Regions from separate parts of the Homo sapiens genome. Here regions 1 and 3 are each linked to region 2. The links are contacts of gene promoters, found by promoter capture Hi-C in blood cells and fetal thymus (Javierre and others, 2016). All regions are on one chromosome and are shown on one strand. The core of a region is centred on a gene start or on the middle of the fragment in contact, and the rest is flanking DNA. Distances in the headings are between cores, read along the strand shown.

Region 1 (4,286 bases), core at 982-3,481, 610 kb before region 2:
TTGTGTTTTTAGTAGAGATGGGGTTCGTCATGTTGGCCAGGTTGGTCTCGAACTTCTGACCTCAGGTGATCCGCCCACCTCAGCCTCCCAAAGTGCTGGGATTACAGGCATGAGGCACCATGCCCGGCCAATATACTTATTGTTATGCAATAATTCTAACATTTAACAAATAAGTTGTATCCTTCATGGATTTTAGGTGGACACTTGCAGATAAAGATTTCTACCATCTCCCTGGTTCACTGAGTGCTGTAAGAACCAGGTGCCCCAGCTGGAAAGCCTTGGTTTCAGACATGTCTGATTGTGGTAGGCAGAATTAAAGCCCCCAAGAACACTCTGTAGCCCCTAATCCCTGGCAGCATGAATATATTATCTTACATGGCAAAGGGAACTTTGCAGATATAAATAGAGTTACTAATTATTTAATCTTAAAATAAGGAGATTCTTGGATTTTCTGGGTAGACCCAATGTATTCACATGAACCCTCAAACCAGAAGAATAAGGCAGAAGAAGAAGGCAGGAAGTTAGAGAGATGTAACAGAAGACATCCGATTGATTTGAAATGTAAGAAGGAATTGAATGTTGCTGGCTTTGAAGGAGCGGAGCATAACCCCAAGGACAATTGGCAACTTCCAGAAGCTGAAAATGAGCCCTGGCCCACAGCCAGCAAGGCAACAGGACCCACCATACTGGCAATCTGAATAAGCATGGAAGCAGGGTCTCCCCCAGAGCCTCCAGATAAGAGTCCAGACCAGCCAGCACTTTGATGACCTCTGACCAGAGGACCCAGCTGAGCCTCCCCTGGAATTCTGACCTGTAGAACTGTGAGATAATGCTTGGGTGTTGCCGTAAGCCACTTCATTTGTGGTAATTCGTTAAAGCAGCAATAGTGAAGGAATATACTATTCATGTATGGAAGCTGGAAGGATGGACCACCAGGGGTGTCATGACTAAGATGCTTCCTGGGGACGCACTGGGCTTAAGAGAAGAGAGAGCTGGGGTACTTAGGGTTTTCCTTTACAGTGTGGCAGTATCAGAAGACAGAGACAATTTTGAGTGTCCAGCTTTGTGTATCTACTCAAATTGCTAGTCAGGTCAGTGCCTTTCACTCACGCTGAAGGCTTTATCTTCAATAAAGAGGGAATCTAAAAATCCTGAGCTGTTACACAAAAAGGTACTTAAGACTTTTGAAACTATCAGATGCTATATATATATACATATATAGCATGTAACAGAGCTTAGCAAAAAACTGAGTTAAGGTTACTTTCCTCACAGGAAGGTTTCTACTGAAGCATATTGGAACCCACATGTTCAAAATGGCTTGGACAGTAAAAGAGCCACTTCAGAGAAGACACGGTAGAGGACCCTCAGTTTTAGAGGACTGTGTTTCTAAAGCAACCTCAGTAGCTTTAGAATTGCAGTGTTTTTATGCTGCTGACTTTTACTTAAATTGTATAATTTACTCAGATAGTTTAAACTACTTACCTAAGATCACTGAACAAGGTAGAATCAAAACTTATATCTCCAGCTTTAAAATATATAACCTGATTGTAGACTGTGGTCTATTCCCTATTCTAATAAAAGAGTGCTGAAATTCAGCATTACCTAAAAATGGTAGATCTTGGAACACATATTTGGTCTAAACTGGCTCTTTTTAATTTTTTTAAAATTTTATTTAAAAAATTGAGGCAGGGTCTTGCCATATTGCCTAGGTTGGTCTTGAACTCCTGGGCTCAAGCAATTTTCCTGCCTTGGCCTCCAAAAGTGCGAGGATTACAGAAGTGAGCCACCAGGCCTGGTTTAAACTGGCTCTTTTGATTCAAAATGTTGTATTCCCCAAGGGTGATATAAGTTAGCTTAAAATTATTTATATGTTGAACTTGGGGCTGCAGAAATTTCTTTTACCAGAAGTAAGAGGCATTAAATAGACTTTGAAAAAGCCTACAAAGTCCTGAGAAAAAGATCTCCAAGTTAAATATGGCCTCTATGGAAATGATTAATGAAGTTTTCTTGGCTAGGTTGTGATCATATGTATGTAAACTTGCCTAATCCTTGTTTTATTGTTGCAGATTACTTTTGCCAAAAATTGCCAAATAAAAAGTGTTTATATTGGAGCTATGACTGCATATAAATGAAGGAGTTTTCTAAAAGGTAGTGTCAAATGGAAGATTTGGGATTACAAGAATGATTCTAGAGGGGTGGGAGTGAGGTGGAAATGGCGTAAGAAAAGTGGGAAGATGAGGAAATCATGGAGTATTTGGAAAGTAGGGAAGCACCCTGACTGGATTGCAGAGTTTATGCTGGAAGAAATGAAAGTTTATACTGGGGTTGACCTAGATTGTTAGTTAAGATTCACTATGTCTTATGGATCCAGCAATGTCTTCAGAACAACAGAGATCTCACCTACAGGGGAGCTTCCGTGAGGCCACATAAAGGGTGTTCCAAAATCAAGACTGCCACCAACACCTCTGCTGCCACTGTGCTTTTGCTTCTGGCACCCAGCAAACCAAAGAATGAATATTCAAAACTCCTAACAGGGAACCAGCTGAAACATAGTCATTTCCAAGATGATATTTGCTTGCAAAGACTGCTAAAGAACTGACTGGAAGATGACCTGTGATTAGTTTCTGCTCTTTAAATCTTACCCGTTAGGCATAGGATACATGCAGAATGTTAGCTGAAGGCAGTGAGTGTAACATTTTTAGCTTTTCAATTTCTCGAACTACAAGACAAGTTGATAAGACTCTGTGAATCAGTCCACAATTTCCATCACATTTGGGTAGGTCATGAAAGTCTGGGACCATAAAACTAAGGAATTTAACATAATCTTGGAAAGAAAAAAGCTCATATATATTATTGAGTGCTTACCATATTCCAGAAACAGCTCAAACCACTTTTATATATAGTGTCTTGTTCAATTTTCTCAAAAATCCTATGAGGAATTATCCCCAACTTACAAATGAGGAAACTGAGGCACAGAGAGGTTAAATTATTTGACAAAGGTCATAGAGCTAGCAGCTTGAGCTCATGAACCCCTGTTCTTAAATACCATGGTATACTGCTCCTTGGGGGCAGAATCAAGGTAGCATTCCTCAAGGTGGTAATGCATCAATTAAGTGTTAAAGCATGAATAGTGGTTTTCCAGGCAAAGAGAGAAAAGCACTTTCTAGGGAAAGGTATGAAGGTGGGATGGAGCAGGACTCATTCAGCAAATTGCTGTTGGTTTTATTCGGCTGCTGTGTAGGGTATGAGATGAAGTACCAAGAGATGGCATTAGAGAGGTAATCATGGAATAGATCCTAATAGGCCTTCGGTTCCCAGCTAAGACATTTGAATTAAACTAATCAGATTTTCATTTTGAAAGATTCATTTTATTAAACTATGAAATATAAGTTAGATGGAGGCATGGCAATACTTATTTAGGAATTGCTGTAGTCCAGATGAGAAATGATGAGACTGAAAAAATAAGAGGACATGAGAAAAATTTAGGTGGTAGGATCACAGGTACATAGCAACCAACGGATGTGGAGGGAGGAGTGTGGGATTATTTCTAGATTTCTGATAGTAGTACCATTCACTGGGCCATAGAAGTGGGAGGAGGTAGGTTCCATTTTGTACATACTGAAACGGAAGTATCTGGGGGATACGAGTGGAAATTGTTGGTAGACTTTAGGCTCTAGCTACTCGAAGTGAAAAGTAGAACCAGAAACATTCTGGCTGTAAAACCCCATGCTCTGGACAACCCCAGGAAGAAAATAAATCTTCCTTCAGGCCATCTGTGGCTTAAATGGAAGTTATCAGGTTAACATTGTGAGGCATACTTCACTCCTTTTCATGTGGATGAAGGGAGATATTCATTATCCTTTTGAAGAACTGTGAGAGTTAAACAGAGTTATTAGTTTTTAGTGGATGAGGAACTAGTTTCTTACATTCTTGGGGAATCTTTTTCTGTACTCTGTTTTGCTTGAATGAGAACTAACCTTTACTAACTAGTCTGGGGCAGCCATCCCAAGTCTGTCACTTACAGTGTTTTCTAAAAGAAGATAATTTTCCTCCCACATCCTTTACCAAACAATAGGGTTAGGGTCATGTGTAGCTGGTGTTTTGTTGACCACTACACGAACTAGATGGAATTGGCATTCAGCTGCTGATAATAATAGAGAACTGACTGTAGTGGCTTAAACATGGAAACATTTGTTCTTTCATGTAAAGGAAGTTCAGAAACAGACATTCCTTCATGGTGTTGGTGAGGCAGCATCATGTCTTTGGCCAAACTTGGTCACAAAACC
Region 2 (4,444 bases), core at 345-2,844:
TTTTTCCAGACAGGTGGTCTGGAAACCTTTTACCTATTACCTTCCATCCCTGAACCATTTCAATCTTCTGCCTCCTGGATATCTTGGAGAAAATGAACCAACACAACACAGCTTTCAGTTTTTAGAGCATTTCCCCCATACAGAACATTGTCTTACTTGATCTTCCCGATGACCTCAACAACAGGAAAGGCAGGTCCTTTCATTTCCATTTATAAGACGCACAGACCCAGGATTATCTAGCCACAGGAAGCAGGACTCCAGATTTCAAGTCCAGCATCTCAACGTGACAACCTTGGTAACTCTGCATGAACGGACTGGATAGTAAAGTGGAATTATTACTGAGAACTGCAATGAATAAAATCTTTTGCATTTTTTGCCTACGTTTCACAGAGGGTGATATTTTTCTGAGGCAATTAAATTTATACCACGGCCACAATACTGAAACGTTCTGACCAACAAAGTCATGCTCCTGCATCTACACAGCAGATAACTGCAGAAACGGCTTCCTTTCTTCCTTGTAAAATTGCCTGAAAACAGCTCCCCCTTGCTGTCCGTCGAGGCATATCTTCACCAACGTTAAAACAGAGCTGAGGGAGATCGCATTTCTGCCTCCCTCCCGCCCTGCAGAGGGGCTCCAGCTGTTCAGAGTAACGGATTACTAGGTAGGTGGTTGTTTCCCCTCCTTCCCAGGGCCTCTTTCCTCTCTTTGAGATTGCCTCTTTCTTACTCCTGAGCACAGGAGCCGGGCGGGTTTTCTGTCCCTTGCCCTGGACAGCACTGCCTGGATGGCCGCTGTCCGGCAGCTGCTCTTTGTCCACCCAAAAAGATGTCCCCACGACTCAGTAGTAACCAGACGGTCCCCACGGACCACTGCGGCCAAATTTCCGCCATCCCCGCTGTGGGAATCAGGCTTTTCCCGCAGAAAACCCCAGGAATCTAGAGAAAACTCCTTAAGTCCCTAGTCTCCATAGAGAAAACCAGGAGACACTCCCCCCAAACCCCGCTGTGAATACAGGCACAGCAGCCACTGGGGCTGCAAAGTGATGAGTGCGTTCTTCCCGTCGCAAACATAGGGTAATAAATAGCATGCATCAAAGACGTTACTAGGAAGAGATAGCTCTTTAAGTCACGAGCGGGGAGAAATGTTTGCCCCGGGAAAATTTGCCTGGGGAATAAAATTTGCCAGACTGCTGCACGGGTGAGCTCGGTGAGAAGGAAGAAACCCGGACTGGAGGAGGTGAGGTCGAGAGCCAGGTTCAGGTGCAGGAGCTAGATGCGTGGACGCCGGTGCGTGGACTGGAGGTTTCCAGGTACCGCGCTTAGCGTGCCTGTTGAAGTCAAATGCATGGTTAAGGAGGCTAGCGAGGAAGGCTAGTGAGGGAAGCTTGTGGAAACGGCTACGAGCCCAGAAAAGGCATGACTCGTCCAGTTGTCCAAGTTTTTGGAAGGGAAAAGCGGGAAAGCGCCACGATCCCACCTACTGTGAGGAGGAATCTGCGAGTCTCCCAGCTCCACCCCCTCCACAGTGATGCAGAGGACAAACACCGACGTAGGGAGAGGAAAAAATAAAACTCCAGGGAGCGGGGAGTAGGCAACCAGCAGTCTTCCGGCAATAGGGCGGGAGGGAGCGCGTCCCAAGGAAACAAGCACCGCATAAATACTTGAGTTGGGAACCCAGTGCTTCCGGAAGCTCGGAGCTCACCTTCCCGACCTCGCCGAAGTTGAAAAAAGGCAGAGCAGGGAGAGGGGCCAGCTCACCCTGCTGAGAGCTGCTCAGTGGGCAGGCGGGACGCTGCTCCGGGAGACGCCCACTGGAGGGATCGCAGAGCCCGGCAAGCTGCGAGCGCGCCAAAGACCCTGCGCTTCGGACGAGGAGCCCAAGTCCTCCGAGACGGGGAGGGAGCGGCCCGCGAGGGCTGGAGCTCCGAAGAGGGCCGAGTAGGAGCTGCATGGACAGCATGCGTCTCTCCGCCGGTCCCGACGCGGGGCCCTCGGGCAACTCCAGCCCATGGTGGCCTCTGGCCACCGGCGCTGGCAACACAAGCCGGGAGGCCGAAGCCCTCGGGGAGGGCAACGGCCCACCGAGGGACGTGCGCAACGAGGAGCTGGCCAAACTGGAGATCGCCGTGCTGGCGGTGACTTTCGCGGTGGCCGTGCTGGGCAACAGCAGCGTACTGCTGGCTCTGCACCGGACGCCGCGCAAGACGTCCCGCATGCACCTCTTCATCCGACACCTCAGCCTGGCCGACCTGGCCGTGGCATTCTTCCAGGTGCTGCCGCAAATGTGCTGGGACATCACCTACCGCTTCCGCGGCCCCGACTGGCTGTGCCGCGTGGTGAAGCACCTGCAGGTGTTCGGCATGTTTGCGTCGGCCTACATGCTGGTAGTCATGACAGCCGACCGCTACATCGCGGTGTGCCACCCGCTCAAGACTCTGCAACAGCCCGCGCGCCGCTCGCGCCTCATGATCGCGGCCGCCTGGGTGCTGAGCTTCGTGCTGAGCACGCCGCAGTACTTCGTCTTCTCCATGATCGAGGTGAACAATGTCACCAAGGCCCGCGACTGCTGGGCCACCTTCATCCAGCCCTGGGGTTCTCGTGCCTACGTGACCTGGATGACGGGCGGCATCTTTGTGGCGCCCGTGGTCATCTTGGGTACCTGCTACGGCTTCATCTGCTACAACATCTGGTGCAACGTCCGCGGGAAGACGGCGTCGCGCCAGAGCAAGGGTGCAGAGCAAGCGGGTGTGGCCTTCCAAAAGGGGTTCCTGCTCGCACCCTGTGTCAGCAGCGTGAAGTCCATTTCCCGGGCCAAGATCCGCACGGTGAAGATGACTTTTGTGATCGTGACGGCTTACATCGTCTGCTGGGCGCCTTTCTTCATCATCCAGATGTGGTCTGTCTGGGATCCCATGTCCGTCTGGACCGGTACGTGCCGGGAAAATAGAGGAAAGTGCAGGGATAGGAGTGTGTGTGTGTGTGTGTGTGTGTGTGTGAGAGAGAGAGAGAGAGAGAGAGAGAGAAAAAAATGAGAATCTAGCAATTTTCTTCATAGTATCTTCTAGGGCAGTAGTTTTTAAACTTCTATGTGTACATAAGAGTCGCACCTTGGAGGAACACTGTTTAAAAAAAAAAAAAGCATATTCCTGGATTCCCCATGCAGACATTCTAATTAAGAATGTCTGGAATGGGGCTCAGGACTCTGCATTTGTAGTGTGCAATGATCCTAAGACCACAATTCCAGAAACTGTGTCCTAGAGTCAGCCAAGCAACTACAAAGCCGAAGAATGACTTTTGCTAAATCACTAGCTACTGTATTAACACCATTTCAGGTCTATTGGATTCAGGGAAATATTTTTACTGTCACAACTGCTTTTTGTTGGATTGTGAAAAGTATTACAATTAATTTTAAAAATGTGTAGAAATGCCTCAGGGGCAAGGATAGAAACAGATATATATTTCTAAAGAAAGCTGGAGAAAAATTCTTTAGAAGGTGAGTAATTCCAATTTGGCATTTAGCTAATAATGTTCCTTTCTCGTTATAATCTATTTTTTTCTAACAATGATTAATAGTTTTTTCTTGGTATTTCAAAGCAGAATTATTGATAAACTAAATTCATTAGACTAATTCATTAGTCTTTCACCACTCATTTGACCACACGGCTCTACATCTCTCCACCCAACTCTTACAGTAGTTTACTGGAAATGTTCTCTGCACCTACTATTGTGTTTGATTTTAATTCCTTCCCAAACTAGAAAAACTAACTTCACAGTGACTTGCAAAAAAAATTATTTAATTTTGCATCTTGAAAATATTTTCTTCTAGTAAAGACAAAAACTCAAACTAAATAAATTCCAGTGCTTGTCGGAACTCAAACCAAATAAATTCAATGGTACAGTTGTTACCAGAATGTTTCTGGTAACAGGAAATAGGTATCTGGGAGTAGCTGTTCTCCTTTTGCTTTTTGGAATTGGAGTAGGGGAGGTATGTAATATGCTTTGGAAGTTATATTTGCAAATAAAACATTTCAGTATGAATTTAACTTAAATATTCTTACTGACTATAATACTAGCGATAATGAAAAATACAATATAAACACTTTATTTTTGGTTTGCTATTTCTTATCTTGCTTGATCTTAGAAGCCTCTTCATATTGTCCATCAAATAAAGAAATTCAGTCTAATTATTGCTTTAGCAGAATTTACACTCAAGTAATAAAAACTTCAATTGTGCATAGATATGTTGGTAATTTTCATTCTTTGTGAATACCATCTTACCCATGGCTCCTGATCACCTTTGATAGCAGCATCTTAGCACTAAGTATGATTAAATAATAACCTGTAATTGTTTTCTGGCATAACAAGAGTGAGAAGATCCAAGTTTATATTTAATAATCAAGGAAAAGTCAGTGTTTATTGATTATTCTTATTTTTAGAAAAGGTA
Region 3 (4,200 bases), core at 1,557-4,056, 670 kb before region 2:
ATTCCTTGCTACAGTGCAAGGTATATTGGGATAACAAAATATATGCGGAAGATAATAGACATATATAAGTCAAAGGGTCCCTCTATTACTTTTATTATTCATTAAGTTGAGCCAAGATTTTGTTGGCTTTACAATTAATTGGGAGATACAAGCATATGATGCAAAACCCATGCAGTATTAAAATGTATACAGTGAGGGAAAAGAGTCTGTTTTACACATCAGCTTCCCGCCTAAGGGACAATCTCTGTTGCCTGTTCCTTAATATATGTATTTTAAAAGCGATATCCTCTGCACATGGTTAACAAAATGGAGTGGAATTTCAGGGTGATATTATGTTCCTCATTTAATGGAGAGAAAAAAGCATATGCCCTCAAATACCCTTCTGCCTCTTCTCCCCTCCCCTCCCCGTCCCCCACCCCCTTCCTTCCTTCTTTTTTGAGATGGGGTCTTGCTCCGTCACCCAGGCTGGAACACAATGATGCGATCTCAGCTCACTGTAACCTCTGCCTCCCGGGTTCAAGAAATTCTCCTGCCTCAGTCTCCTGAGTAGCTGGGATTACAGGCGCGTGCCACTATGCCCGGCTAATTTTTGTATTTTATTATTATTATTTTTTTCACCATTTAAGGAATTGTTATTAAAGCAATAATTTTATAATCCAAATTACGTTTCCTAGCTCAGTTATCAATTCTGTTACTTAAAACAGAACTGACATTTTGAACTATTCCACAGTAAAGAATTACAAAATTAAAGAAAGGAATGCTTTAAATTTTTGCACTTTGCTGAAAATTTTTTCCCAGAGTCTATAAAACATTAATTGGTTTTCATATTTTACTATTTTTGTGTTTTTTTAAAATTTTTAAATCAATAAGTAATCTAGGACTAGCATTATGTTTGCTAGACCTGGCATTTTCTCGGTACATAAGGTTCAAAGTTTCTTTTCCTTTTTAAATTTATTTTATATTTTGCAATGTTTATTAAAAAAATAATATTTACATTTTTCGATGTTTAGATATTTTTCTTCTGTGAAGCACAAGTTTCTTTTCATGGTACCTGATCAATTTTAAACAGTTGGAACACCGGTGGCACGGTTAACTGCTTTCTGGGCAGCCACTTCAGCTTGGTGGGCTTGTAGTACAGCTACAGTTTCATTAACCTTAGAACGGAGTGACTCTGGAGACTCCAGCATATGAAGAAGTTCTGAATTACCAATCTCCAACAACATGCCAGTGATTTTACCAGCAAGAGTAAGGTGCATGGCTTGAATAAGAGGAAACAGCCGTTCACCCAACATTTGCTTTTGCTCTTGAGCATGGGCAGATACCAACATGGAAGCAGTCAAAGGTTCCTGACCTTGTACATGAGCAGCAGGCTGTTGCATTGTAACTTGTGGCTGTGCATTAAGATGTTTCTGAGGACTGCGAACTCCCGCAGCATAGTTATAATGTGGAGTGGCAGCAGCAGCAGCTGCAGGACGTGGACCCATTGTCTGTGTCGATGTGTTAGCAACACGCTGTGTTGACATAACTCATGGAACCTGTGAAGAAGCTGGTCTCATAGTACTAAATGGTGGTCTAGGAGCAGCCGGGCGGATAGCACTGGGCCTATTTTGGAATGGATGGGGTCTGGCACCCTCAGCAGTCCAGCGAGGACTTGGTCTTAGTTGAGCAATTTGGCTAGGAGGATAGTATGCAGCACCGTTCTGAGTCTGTGGGATAGCTGCCATGAAGTAACCTGAAGGAGGTGCTGGCTGGTAGGGGTTGATTTCAAGATTGGGCACAGCTCGTACACTTGCCATTCTTTGCATATACTGGTTAGTGAGGTGAGCCTGGCACTCTTCTTTGCGCTGAGCTAAAGCAACATACAATGGCTTTGTGGCCACAATTCTACCATTCATTTCTGTAACTGCTTTAGTGGCTTCTTCTGGTGAGGAGAAACATACAAAACCAAACCCTTTGCAGCGACCACCCTCCATCATAACCTTTGCACTGGTGATTGTACCAAATGGAGAAAACTCTTTCCGGAGACGTTAATTATTAATGCCATCATCAAGATTTTTCACATAAAGATTAACACGGTGGTATCTGGTGATCCTATCTTGCCTCACCTGTTCAAATTTGCGCTTAAGTTCTGTCTGCCGTTCCACTTTTTTCTGAGCTCTACCTACATAAATTTGTTTTCCATTGAGCTCCTTTCATTTCATCCACAGCTTTCTGTGCATCTTCAAGCCTTTCAAAGCTTACAAATCCAAATCCTTTAGATTTTCCACTTTCACCAGTCATTACTTTCACATTTAAGGCAGGCCCAAACTTGCCAAAGAGATTCTTAAGGCGCTCATCATCCATGTCTTCTCCGAAATTCTTGATGTAAACATTGGTGAACTCTTTCACGTAGCTCCAAGTTCAGCTTCTCGTTCTTTATGAGACATAAATCGTCCAACAAATACTTTGCGATCATTTAGGAGCATTCCATTCATTTTTTCCATAGCTCTTTCAGCTGCTTCCTGTGTCTCAAAGTGTACAGATCCATAGCCCTTGGAATCATTTTCATCACAGCCCACCTTACATGAAAGGATGTTACCAAAAGCAGAAAAATGTATCATACAGTGCTTTATTATCAATGGATTTGTCCAGATTTTTAATGAATATGTAGCCCACTCCACTTTTGCGAAGTGATGGATCACGCTGAGACTACACGATGCGTACTGGCTTGCCCTTTATAACATCAAAATTCATAGTGTTCACAGCATGCTCCGCGTCCGCGGGCTACTGGAAGTTCACATACGCGTAGCCCAAGGAGCCGTGGGTGATCATGTCCCTGCAGACCCGGATGGAGAGGATGAGCCCGGCCGCGCTGAACTTCTTGTAGAGCATCGCCTCGGTCACGTCGGGATGGAGGTCCCCCACGTACAGCGAGGACGTAGCTGGGGGCACTGGGGTTCATCTCGGCACTGCTGCTCGCAGGGCCACAGGCCGCGACCTTTCCGTGAGAGGAGGAGAGCGAATGCTGGGGCTAGGGGCCGGAGCTGGGGGAAGGTGAGCGGGGGCAAGCGCAAGCGCAAGCGCAGAGGGACAAAAATCACCCGGAATCGAAAACTACTTCACCGCCCCAGAATGGTGTTGATCCGCTGCCGCTGGCTGCGGGCGAAGGTGGAGGTGTCAGTCCGGACAGCGGGAAGGCCTCGGTCTCTTGGTTCCTTTTTGGAGCTGCTGCGGGCGGGCGAGTCGGCCTCGGCTGCTTCACGGGGTTACTTTATAAAAGAAGAAGAAGAAAAAAATAAAAGTCTATGGCAGGGGAGAGGCGGATTTTTTGTAAATTGTGGGAAAGTTTTTAAAATATTTTTTTAGATTTTTTTTTAATAATAAATGTATGTTCCGAGCCTGGAGCACACACTCCGCACTCTGAGCACTAACTGCCGGGAGAAGGGGCTAATTTTTGTATTTTCAGTAGAAACGGGGTTTCACCATGTTGGCCAGGCTGGTATGGAACTCCTGACCTCAGGTAATCTGTCCGCCTAGCCCTCCCAAAGTGCTGGGATTACAGGCGTGAGCCACCACGCCCGGCCAGTTTTTCTTTTTTTCTGATGTAGGCACTTGTAGCTATAAAATTCCCTCTTAGTACTGCTTTTGCTGTATCCCATAGGTTTTGGTATGTTGTGTTTCCATTATCATTTGATTCAATAAATATTTCAATTTCCTTTTTAATTACTTCATTGATCCACTGGTCGTTCAGGAGTATATTGTTTAATTTCCATATGTTTGCATAGTTTCCAAAATTCCTCTTGTTATTAATTTCTAGTTTTGTTTCATTGTGGTCAGAGAAAATGCTTGATATTATTTCAGGGTTTTTTTTAGACTGAGTCTCCCTCTGTCACCCGGGCTGGAGTGCAGTGGCGTGATCTCAACTCATTGCAACCTCTGCCTCCTGGGTTCGAGTGACTCCCTTGCCTCAGCCTCCCGAGTAGCGGGGACTACAGGTGTGTTCCACCATGCCTGGCTAGTTTTTGCATTTTTAGTAGAGATGGGGTTTCACTATGTTGGCCAGGCTGGTCTCAAACTCCTGACCTTGTGATCTGCCTGCCTCGGCCTCCCAAAGTGTTGGGTTACAGGCATGAGCCACTGCACCCGGCCCAGTTTTTTTTTTTTTTTTTTTAATGTTTTAAGACTTATTTTGTGACCTAATAGATGGTCTATTCTTGAGAA

Evidence for each region. Contacts are between HindIII fragments. The CHiCAGO score rates a contact against its expected background, and 5 or more counts as called.
Region 1: a fragment that was not itself captured here is called in contact with the fragment with the promoter of AVPR1A in region 2 in 2 of 17 cell types (M2 macrophages and endothelial precursors); the score reaches 5.2 in M2 macrophages.
Region 3: a contact is called between the fragment with the promoter of RXYLT1-AS1 here and the fragment with the promoter of AVPR1A in region 2, in 2 of 17 cell types (M0 macrophages and M2 macrophages). The highest score is 6.4, in M0 macrophages.

The regions. Positions count from the first base shown.
Region 1 is chr12:63,754,724-63,759,009 of GRCh38, reverse strand. No RefSeq gene overlaps it. Among named protein-coding and RNA genes, the nearest start is that of RXYLT1, 23 kb to the left of the region's middle. The HindIII fragment of the contact is 6,982 bases long and covers 1-4,286 here.
Region 2 is chr12:63,148,351-63,152,794 of GRCh38, reverse strand. It overlaps AVPR1A (arginine vasopressin receptor 1A), which reads left to right and starts at 1,594. Exons shown (of 2, transcript NM_000706.5): 1 at 1,594-2,928. The coding sequence starts at 1,959. The HindIII fragment of the contact is 3,248 bases long and covers 1,387-4,444 here.
Region 3 is chr12:63,820,762-63,824,961 of GRCh38, reverse strand. It overlaps RXYLT1-AS1 (RXYLT1 antisense RNA 1), which reads left to right and starts at 2,806. Exons shown (of 4, transcript NR_126167.1): 1 at 2,806-3,033. It overlaps MIR10527 (microRNA 10527), which reads right to left and starts at 1,299; the gene lies at 1,235-1,299. It also overlaps the pseudogene PABPC1P4. The HindIII fragment of the contact is 5,765 bases long and covers 2,239-4,200 here.